Regions from separate parts of the Homo sapiens genome. Here all the other regions are linked to region 1. The links are contacts of gene promoters, found by promoter capture Hi-C in blood cells and fetal thymus (Javierre and others, 2016). All regions are on one chromosome and are shown on one strand. The core of a region is centred on a gene start or on the middle of the fragment in contact, and the rest is flanking DNA. Distances in the headings are between cores, read along the strand shown. Region 1 holds the start of TG (thyroglobulin). Region 2 overlaps LOC105375769 (a long non-coding RNA gene). Region 3 has its middle 38 kb from the start of SLA.

Evidence for each region. The method cuts DNA at HindIII sites, captures the fragments that hold promoters and counts their contacts. A CHiCAGO score of 5 or more calls a contact.
Region 2: a contact is called between a fragment that was not itself captured here and the fragment with the promoter of TG in region 1, in 1 of 17 cell types (naive CD8 T cells). The highest score is 5.5, in naive CD8 T cells.
Region 3: a fragment that was not itself captured here is called in contact with the fragment with the promoter of TG in region 1 in 5 of 17 cell types (M2 macrophages, activated CD4 T cells, naive CD4 T cells and 2 more); the score reaches 7.3 in M2 macrophages.

The regions. Positions count from the first base shown.
Region 1 is chr8:132,865,206-132,868,375 of GRCh38, forward strand. It overlaps TG (thyroglobulin), which reads left to right and starts at 1,753. Exons shown (of 48, transcript NM_003235.5): 1 at 1,753-1,862; 2 at 2,910-3,018. The coding sequence starts at 1,796. The HindIII fragment of the contact is 3,355 bases long and covers 1-2,310 here.
Region 2 is chr8:133,157,040-133,160,209 of GRCh38, forward strand. LOC105375769 (a long non-coding RNA gene) reads left to right here. Exons shown (of 3, transcript XR_928667.4): 2 at 1,009-1,133. Among named protein-coding and RNA genes, the nearest start is that of CCN4, 32 kb to the right of the region's middle. The HindIII fragment of the contact is 6,458 bases long and covers 1-3,170 here.
Region 3 is chr8:133,139,286-133,142,455 of GRCh38, forward strand. No RefSeq gene overlaps it. Among named protein-coding and RNA genes, the nearest start is that of SLA, 38 kb to the left of the region's middle. The HindIII fragment of the contact is 2,304 bases long and covers 332-2,635 here.

The sequences.
Region 1 (3,170 bases), core at 503-3,002:
AGTAGCTGTTATGGACTGAATTGTGTTCTCCCCCCAAATCCATATGCTGAAGTCCTAAAACCAGGACCTCAGAATGTGACCGCATTTGAAGGTAGGGTCTTTAAAGAGGTAATTAAGTGCACAATGAGGTCACAAGGATGGGCTCTAATCCAATATGACTGGTGTACTTAAAAGAAATAAATATTAAGACACAAACACACACAGGGAAGACCAAGTGAGGATACAGGGAGGAGATGGCCATCTGCAAGCCCAGGAGAGGAGTCTCCAAAGAAACCAACAGTGCTGACACTTTGATCTTGGATTTCCAGCCTTCAGAACTATGAGAAAATAAATTTCTGTTACTTAAGCCACCCAGTCTGTGATAGTTTGTGATGACACCCATAGCAGACTAGTACAGTAGCTAACACTGGATACTTATTATGTGTCAAATACTGTTTTAAGCACTTTGCATATTTTAACACATTTAATATTCATAGCAACCCTATTTGTGGAAGGTAGTACAGTCTACGGCACGGCAGCTATATCGGCCCCTTTATTTTCCCCAGGGTTTGGAGTCTCTTCCACTTTCCAGCTTGTCCTCCTGCCCTTCACTCTACCCGGGACCATATCCTCCAGATTCTCACAGGTCCCTCCATCTCTCCTCAGGTGCCAGGCTCAGCAACCTGCCCTCATTACCTGCCAGTTCCTGACCCTATCTGTCACTAGCTCCTTACCTGGCTGGATTGGTCTTCTGAATACTTGCCATTCCCTGGCATGATGCTTTTGCAAAATAAGAAAATCAATAATAATAATAATAACTGCTAGTGTCTAATAAGCATGTGCTCTTCAATGTCTATTCTCTTACAACTACCTTAACAAATAGGGACATATTATTATTCTCCTTTTAACTTTGCTTTCCAGAGAAGGAGGCTGGGGCTCAGGGAGATGAGGTGAGTTTTTCCAGGTCTCACAGGAACAGGACTGAAGGAAGGAAGCCATGTTTGCCAGGAGAAACCAAATGGACATACAGGCTTTCTGTGGAATACACAGTTCCTGCTATCTTTTGGTTGACAAAGTCTGAGGTCCTAGGAAAGAGAGGAAAGTAATAGAAATATGAATATGAGTGTGTGTGTATTTTGCTTCCCTCACCAAAGTTTTCACAGTCTATATTAATGAGGGCACGATTTTGCCTGTTTTGTTCTCTGCCATATCCTCATTGTCTAGATTAGGTGCCTGCTACTGTGGAGCTCTAAGAGGTTGTTAGAGAAAGAATAGAAGAAAGAAAAGAAGGAAGGAAGGAAAGAAGGAAGAAAGAAAAGAAAGAGGGAAGGAAGGAAAGAAAGAAGGAAGAATGAAAGGAAAGAAGGATAGAAGGGAGAAAGGAAGGAAAGAAGAAAGAAAGGAAGAAAGGAAAGAAGGAAGGAGGAAGGAGAAGGAGAAAGGGTAGGGTGGGGAAGGAAAGAACAAAGGATTGCTTTTCCCTCACTGTGGGCTTGAGCCTGTTCCCTCCAAAGATACAGAGCTTTGGTCTTTACCCATAAAAAAGGATTTTGAAGTCACCCCACCCCGTTCTGTTCCCCCACAGTTTAGACAAGATCCTCATGCTCCACTGGCCACACGAGTGCCCTCAGGAGGAGTAGACACAGGTGGAGGGAGCTCCTTTTGACCAGCAGAGAAAACAGGATGGGGCACTGCCTCACTGAGGACCTGGGGGTGGGAAGGAAAGTGCCAACGGCAGCTCTATAAAAGCTCCCTGGCCAGGGGACCTAGGGCAAGCAGTGGTTTCTCCTCCTTCCTCCCAGGAAGGGCCAGGAAAATGGCCCTGGTCCTGGAGATCTTCACCCTGCTGGCCTCCATCTGCTGGGTGTCGGCCAATATCTTCGGTAAGTTCTGAGGCCATGGAGCCAGGCGGTGGGGAGGGAGCTCCAGTGTCAGCCAGGCTCTGCCCTGGGCCTTCGAACAGGTGCGATCTAATTTAATCTTCACAAATTCCCACATGTCAGTGATTTGCTTTTTTTTTTTCAGATGAAGAGGCAGATTTAGAGAGCCGAACTGAATTACTTGAGGTCACAGAGCTAGTGATTGATGGAGCAGAAATGGGAAATGTGGTTGATCTTCCTAATTCAATTCTAGGTCCTCCTCACCCCACCATTTTGGCAAACTTTTGGCATTGACCTTGGGTTTTTATCCCCTTAGCTATTCCAAAGTCTGTGTCATCCATAACAGGTATTTTAGAAGCAGTAGAAAAAGAAATCTACCTATGAAGTGAAATAGCCCTAAGTTCTGTCTTTGGCTCAGCCACTTACCCATATGACTTCGGGCAAAGTGCCAAGCTTCTGTTTTTTTTTTTTTTTTTTCATTTAAAAAGTAAACAAATAACACACACCTCATGATGCGGTTGTGATTTCTGGGTAGGACCCTATGTGTTACAAGAGTTCTCAATGGAAAAATAAGTCATGTACATTATTAATTAATTGGTATTTCAATGTTTATCTGGAACATGTTACATCTGCAGGGCATGGCTTGATAGATTCAAGAAGAACTTCCTTACGGTTCTCTAACTTACTCCAAATAGCCTCATGGGAATTGCGGCAGGGTGGGGGCGGGCGGGGAACGTGTAGTCCCAGCGTTGATTTTGGGATCCTTCACTTGCCAGTTACGTGACTTTGGGCAGACGACTTTCGCTGCCTGAGACTTGGTGCCTCATGAGTGACAAGGATATATTGCCTGTCACCTCTTAGGAGAATGTTGCACATTAAATGAGCTAATGTCATACTTGTAAGAAAGTGTGCTTAGCTGCCAAATTTTAAAATAGGCTGTCATAGGTAATGATGATGACCCTGGAAAAGCATCTGTGCTTATGAGAGCCCGTCTCTGTCCTGGCAGCCCAGTCCACACTCTTCTTTGATGAACCACTTTTCTTTTCCTAGAGTACCAGGTGGATGCCCAGCCCCTTCGTCCCTGTGAGCTGCAGAGGGAAACGGCCTTTCTGAAGCAAGCAGACTACGTGCCCCAGTGTGCAGAGGATGGCAGCTTCCAGTAAGGCTTATGTCAGCAGCGAACTCTCAAGGTCCAAGATGCCATAAAAAGCATCTTGTGCCTTCCCCCCTCTTCCTGAGCTCTGCCCTGCAACTCCTTTGTGCATGTGAGGCTTGGCCACTGTCATTTGGAGGTGCCTGCCTTTCAGTTCC
Region 2 (3,170 bases), core at 359-2,858, 290 kb after region 1:
GTAAAGACTTGGGCTTTTTCTTTAGGAGTAATGAGAAGGTATTAGCAGACTAAATAGAGTGGCGTCATCCAGCTTGGATTTTAACAGGATGCTTCTGGTATTTGTGTAGAGAAAAAGCTGTACAGGGAGCAAGGATGGAGAGTCAGGAAGCTAATGCAAGCATCCAAGCAAAAGACGAGGGTTTGGACCAGGGCAATGACAGGGAACGTGAGCTGTGGTCACATTCCAGTTCTATTTTGAAGACGGCAAAGGAGGCACATGAGCATGGGAGTGCTGAGGGTTACGCTAGACATTTAAGGCTTTGAAGTTGGATGAGATCGCCAAGGGCATGTGTCCTAGACAAGAGTAGAGGCCTGAAGACTGAGCCCTGGGCATCCTAACAGAGGTTCGAAAGATAAAGGGAAACCAGCAAACAATGAAAGCAATGTAGGTGGTGAGACAAAATATCAGTCTCTTTTGAGAGCCAATCTTGGGCAAGTTCATTGACCTGCATTATTTCATCAAATCCCTATTCCAATCTTGTCGGGGAAAGTATCCTACCCATTTTATAGATAAGAGAATTAGAGGCTCAGAGGGAAGAAATTATTCAAGGTATCAAATAGGCAAGAAACAGAGCTAGGATTGAAGCCTTTTTTTGGATGTAAAGAGCATGTTTCTTGGCCTGGCTGGGTTCTTGCCCTGTGCATTATACAAGGTAATATGGAAGCTCATGTTTCTCTTGCCACAGTAATCTCCAGGAAGCAATCCTCAACCACAGCAGAAAGGGAGTTGATTGGTGCATATTTCAGCTTCCTCCATCTTGAGTGAGGCAATTCTGAGGTGTGCCATCCACCTTCTCCCAGAACACCACAGTGGAATTGTGACCTGGTTGCCCATGGTCACTGCTGTGAGTTGACAATGTTCCCTGACTGGTTTCCTTTAAGTCCCTGCCTCACCTGCCCATTCCCTTAGTGGCATTGCTCAGATCACCTGCCTTACAAATCCCTTGCACTCATATTCTTATTGCAGAGGCTGCTTCTGAAGAAACCCAACAGTAGACTCTGGTGTGAAGAACAAAGACACACAGCTTGAGCCTGGGGATGGACACCTCCCAGCAGCCCTGGCTGCCACTCACTGCTGTGCTGCAGCCTGAGGTGTGTGGGGATGGGTGCCGTACACACTGTGTCTGCATGTACAACACACGTGCATCCAGGTGCACATCTATTGGTGGATGTGGGCAGGTGTCCACGTCTGTGTGCCAGCTCAGATGTTAACAGCAGGAAAGGAAAACTGAACCAGCTCCTTATGTAAATATTGGACAACTAGAACACTTTTCTGTTTCTTTGAGTCATTTCAGAGTTTCTGAAACTTTGCCGCCACTCCCCTTGGATGGAGGGTGGGAGTGGAGGTTGGGGGAAAGGAGGTTATTTTTGGCCCGGGGATTTCAGAGCTCCTCCGTTATGTGTGTTTCTCCTCTCTCTCCTGCCCACCGAAGCCCTCAGAGGGGAAGATCTGCTGAAGAGAGGGAGAGGTCCTTGCAGTCCCTTGGCAAATCATGTGCTACCTCTGTGGCTCTGGATAGCAGAGAATTCACTGAAGGACATGAGATGCCGAGTGGCTCCCCCATGCCAACCTACCCCAATGCTCCTAACTCAAGAGAAAAGAGGTGGACAGACACCAGATTCAAAACAGTTCCAGGTTTAAAGACAGAAGCTGTAGGTTTGCAATCTCAGTTTGTGTCCCTGACCATGTCATTCAGCTGCTCTGAGTGCAGGGCTCTTGCCTGTGGAAAGAGGATGAGGAAGCCTGCCCCATGGTCCCTTAGGGTGGCTGTGAGTCTCCCATGAGACTAGCAGCCTGAGGAGGGCATCTGAAAGAACACTTTAGAACCAGATAGATACAGGTTCAAATCTTATCTCTGACATTTCCTTAACCCAACCTTGAGAAGTAAATTAACCTCTCTGAGCCTCTGTATTCCCATCAGTAAAATGGTGATTAAAAATATTTTAATTTTATTTAATTAAATGATGTAACATATAAACTACCCATTAATTCACTGGCAAGTAGAATGTGCTTATAAATGTCTGTTTCCTCCTTTCTATCTACCCTGATACTTCCCAGGACAGTGAAGGAAAATAGAGACGAGTATAGGTAGAAAAATGGGAGGGAAATAGATTTGAGGCATAGAGCATTTTTCTTTGGTTAACCAATGCAGAGGGTTACTAGAGAGTTAATTTAATCCAATATACAAACTTTACTGCCACAGACAATAAGGACAGGTAGAGAATGAAGAGCTGTAATATTCAAAGATTCGTACTACAAATTGACAGGAAAAACACAAACCACCCAATAAAAAATAGGAAAAAGTGTAAAATAAAGCAATCCAAATGAACAATAAACATAGTAAAAGATACTTAAATTCACTAGAAGTCAGGGAAATAAAAATTAATATAAATTTCATGTAATTAATGAGACATTATTTTACATTCATCCAGCTGGCATACCTAAAAAGAGCATTAACACTTGTTGCTGGTAAGTGTTCCATGAAAAGAACGTTTGCATATATTGCTGGTGGAAATGCAAATTGTCACAGCATTTGTATAAATCAATAGGGCAACATCTATTAAAACTGTAAAACATATTAATATGGTTTGGCTCTGTGTTCCCACCCAAATCTCATTTTAAATTTTAATCCCCATGTTTCAGGGGAGGGACCAGGTGGATGGTGATTGGATCATGGGGGCGGATTTCCCCCACGCTGTTCTCGTGACAGTGAGTTCTCACGAGATTTGCTGAATTTTAAGTGTGTGGCCCTTCCCGCTTCGCTCTCTCACTCTTCCTCCTGCTCTGCCATGTGATGAAGGTGCCTTGCTTCCCCTTCGCCTTTCACCAAGATTGTAAGTTTCCTGAGGCCTCCCAGTCATGCTTCCTATTAAGTCTGAAGAATTGTGAGTCAATGAAACCTGCTTTCGTCATAAATTACTCAGACTCAGGTAGTTCTTTGTAGCAGTGTGAGAATGAACTAACACACATATATTCTTTTATCCAGCAATTCTACTTTTGTGACTCAATTCCATAGAAATTAAACATCAGCACATCAAGATACAAACACACACAGTCAGGTGAAGGTTTAAACAAATAATGCTACATTATGCCATGGTGCATTATGTGATTATTTAAGAGACTGTATT
Region 3 (3,170 bases), core at 234-2,733, 270 kb after region 1:
CTTCAGAAACCTGCAGCGGAAGAGACAATCTACAATAGCTAGGGTGTGTGAGCTGCAGGAGATCAGAGTTCCTATTAAGACAAGTAGGGGAAGGTAATGCCCCAGGCCCCACGGTCAGCCCTCTCAGACCTGGCTTCCAGAACTCTGGGCTCTGGACTCCCACTGCATCTTTCATGTGTTGCAGAGATTCCTCTTGAAGTCACATGGGATTGCATAACCCATTCCCAACTGCAATGGGCAAACATGAGTGTACATCAGGGCAACTGTAAAGGTGTCATAATCTCTTTTCTCCATCTTTAAAGGACAGGAAGGTCACAGTACACCCACATCAAGCTTAGGGTCAACCAAAAGTCAAGAGGTGAATGAGACATCACCTCGCATCGAGAACCAGAGTGATATTCACAATCTGCAAGGCATGAATTAAGAAACAAAATGAAGAAATTATCTGGGAGCTCACTCATGAGACTGAGTCAACTTCCTCCTGAGTTAGAAGCAACCAGGAATTACAGGAAGATGAAGCAAGTGATCTTTTCAAAGGGAAGTTATGAAGTAACCCTGCAAGGTTCCCCAGCTTCCAAGCCCCTTTTCAAAGGCAGCAGAAATGCCCAAAGCTCAGAGATTCCCCAGGTCCTCACTGAAGCTGGGGAGACAAGAACAGCCCCTCCCAGGCCATCCAAAGCCATAGGCAATGGTTCCAAGACAGGGCTGAGAGCATAAAAGTTACCTGAGTAGCTGATTAAAATGCAGATTCCTGTTCCCAAATTTTTTAGAATAAATAGATGTAATATAGCACTCATAAACCTAAAGGTTCAAATAAATAATACTTCTACATAGGAAATGTCTTATGTGGTCCTCCTGTCTGCCATAAATCTATTTTCCAGAAGCAACTTCTTCTAACAGTTCCCATCTTAGTTCAGTCACCCCAGAAGTCTAGATAGTGTGAGTTTACCTCTGTTTGTGACTTATCAGCTTTATCTAGACCTATTGAGTCCTTTCGGAGAAAAATGAGGGTTTAGCTCACTTATACCACCCACCTCCTATACTTCCAACAGTACATTTTTATTCCTTCTTGAGATTTCTTTTTAATTCTAAAAAAAAAAAATTCTCTTTTGTATTCCATACATTTTCTAATTATTTTCTGCCTTTCTACATAAATGATGAGCATACCTATATCTGTCTTAGTCCATTTTCTGCTGCCATAACAGAATACCACAGACTAGGTAATTTATAAAGAACAGAAGTTTATTTGGCCTGTGGTTCTGGAGACTGGAAAGTTCAACAGCATAGCACTGGCATCTAGCAGAAGGCAGAAGCGAGTTTTGAGAAACACAGAAGTGGGGCCAAACTTATCCATTTATCAGGAGCCCACTCTCAGGATAATTCCCACGACAACAGCATTAATCCATTCATGAGGGCTACTATGAAGGCTTCTTAAAGGCTCCACCTCTCAATACTATTACATTGGCTATTAAATTTCAACATGAGTTTTGGAGGGGACATTCAAGCTACGGCACCATGCTTATACCCCCACCCCTCCTTCTTCCCTCTTTGGCCTCATCCCTTAACACCCCTTCTCTTTAATGTCCACACTCTTAGACTTACTTTGTCCTGCAGTCTCAAATCAGCCTTCTGAGCTTTGTTCCACAGGTCAGTTCCAACAGCCGAAGGCCAGTTAACCTTATTTGCTGTATTAAGGCTATATATATGTATTGTTATCCTAACCAACACCCATGGGGAACTGACTAATACCTGGGGTCTGCCAATGTTACATATATAGTTTACAGGCCAAGCAACATGGTTAAAATCATAGTTTGTACTCTCTTAGTACATGTTATAACCCCTGGGCATTTAAAGAGGAACATTGTTTACCTGAAGATCACATTGTAATATTATATAATATATGTAATATTATGTTGCATCTTATTGTTCTATCTAGACTTTATAATTGTTTTTCTTTCCTCTTTCTCTCTCTCCCTCCTTTCCTTCCTCCCTTCTTTTTTTCTCTCTCAATTCCTTGAATTCTGTGTCTTTATCACATCTTCAAGGAATTTGCATGTTTTTATAATATCCTGATGGTCTTGTCCAGGTTTGTGATATCACTGCTTTAAGGCTTTGGATATAAAGGAAAGAATATGGATATCTGGAGCTTGACAGGCCTTTGAGTCCTGACTCAGCTTCTCACCAACTGGATGATTCAGAACAAACCCCTTCACCAATCTGGGCATTAGCTTAACGTGGAAAATGTAGATAACTAATTCCTTTCCTAACAGTATTGTGAGGTTCTTAAAAAGCAAGAGAATTAAATGCTCTGCATAATTAGAAATGGTGAACAATAATTAGAAGACATTTTCATGACCAGAATCTACTTCTGTTGAGCTCATTCATCACTTTGGACCGGGCCCCTTGTTTGGTGCTGAAGGCACAATGATTAAAGCTCCCTATGCTTGAGGAGCCCCAAGTCTAGAGGGAGACGCAGGCAAGTAAAGAGCCAATCACAATTCTGTGGAATACTTGTGATAATAGGGATAAAATAAAGGGGAGGCTTCAGGAGCAGAAGAAGGGTACCCAAGTCATATTAGTGGATGTTCTCCAGAGAGGAGACCCCAAGCTGAAAACCAAAGGACAAATAAAAATAAGCTTGGTGGCCGGGCACAGTGGCTCACTCTTGTAATCCCAGCACTTTGGGAGGCCAAGGCAGGTGGATCACGAGGTCAGGAGTTCAAGACCAGCCTGGCTAAGATGGTGAAACCCCATCTCTACTAAAAATACCAAAAAAAACAAAAAAAAAATAGCCAGGTGTGGTGGCAGACGCCTGTAATCCCAGCTACTCAGGAGGCTGAGGCAGACAATTGCTTGAACCCAGGAGGCGGAGGTTGAGTGACCCGAGATCATGCCACTACACTCCAGCCTGGGCCACAGAGTGAGACTCCATCTCAAATAAATAAATAAATAAATAAGCAAGCTTGGCGCAGAGTATTTGGGGATGTGGGGGTGGTGGTGTAGGCACCAGTACTGAGCCTAGGAGCACTTCAGGCCTTAAAACATCTGGTGAGTTTCCACAGCCTTAGTGGCTGCCTCCCCCACTTGCTGGGAAAGCCCCGGATCCCTTCTGAAGTCCATGTCAAATTGCCCATCACCTCCCCATCTTCCCAGGGGTACTTCCTGGGACC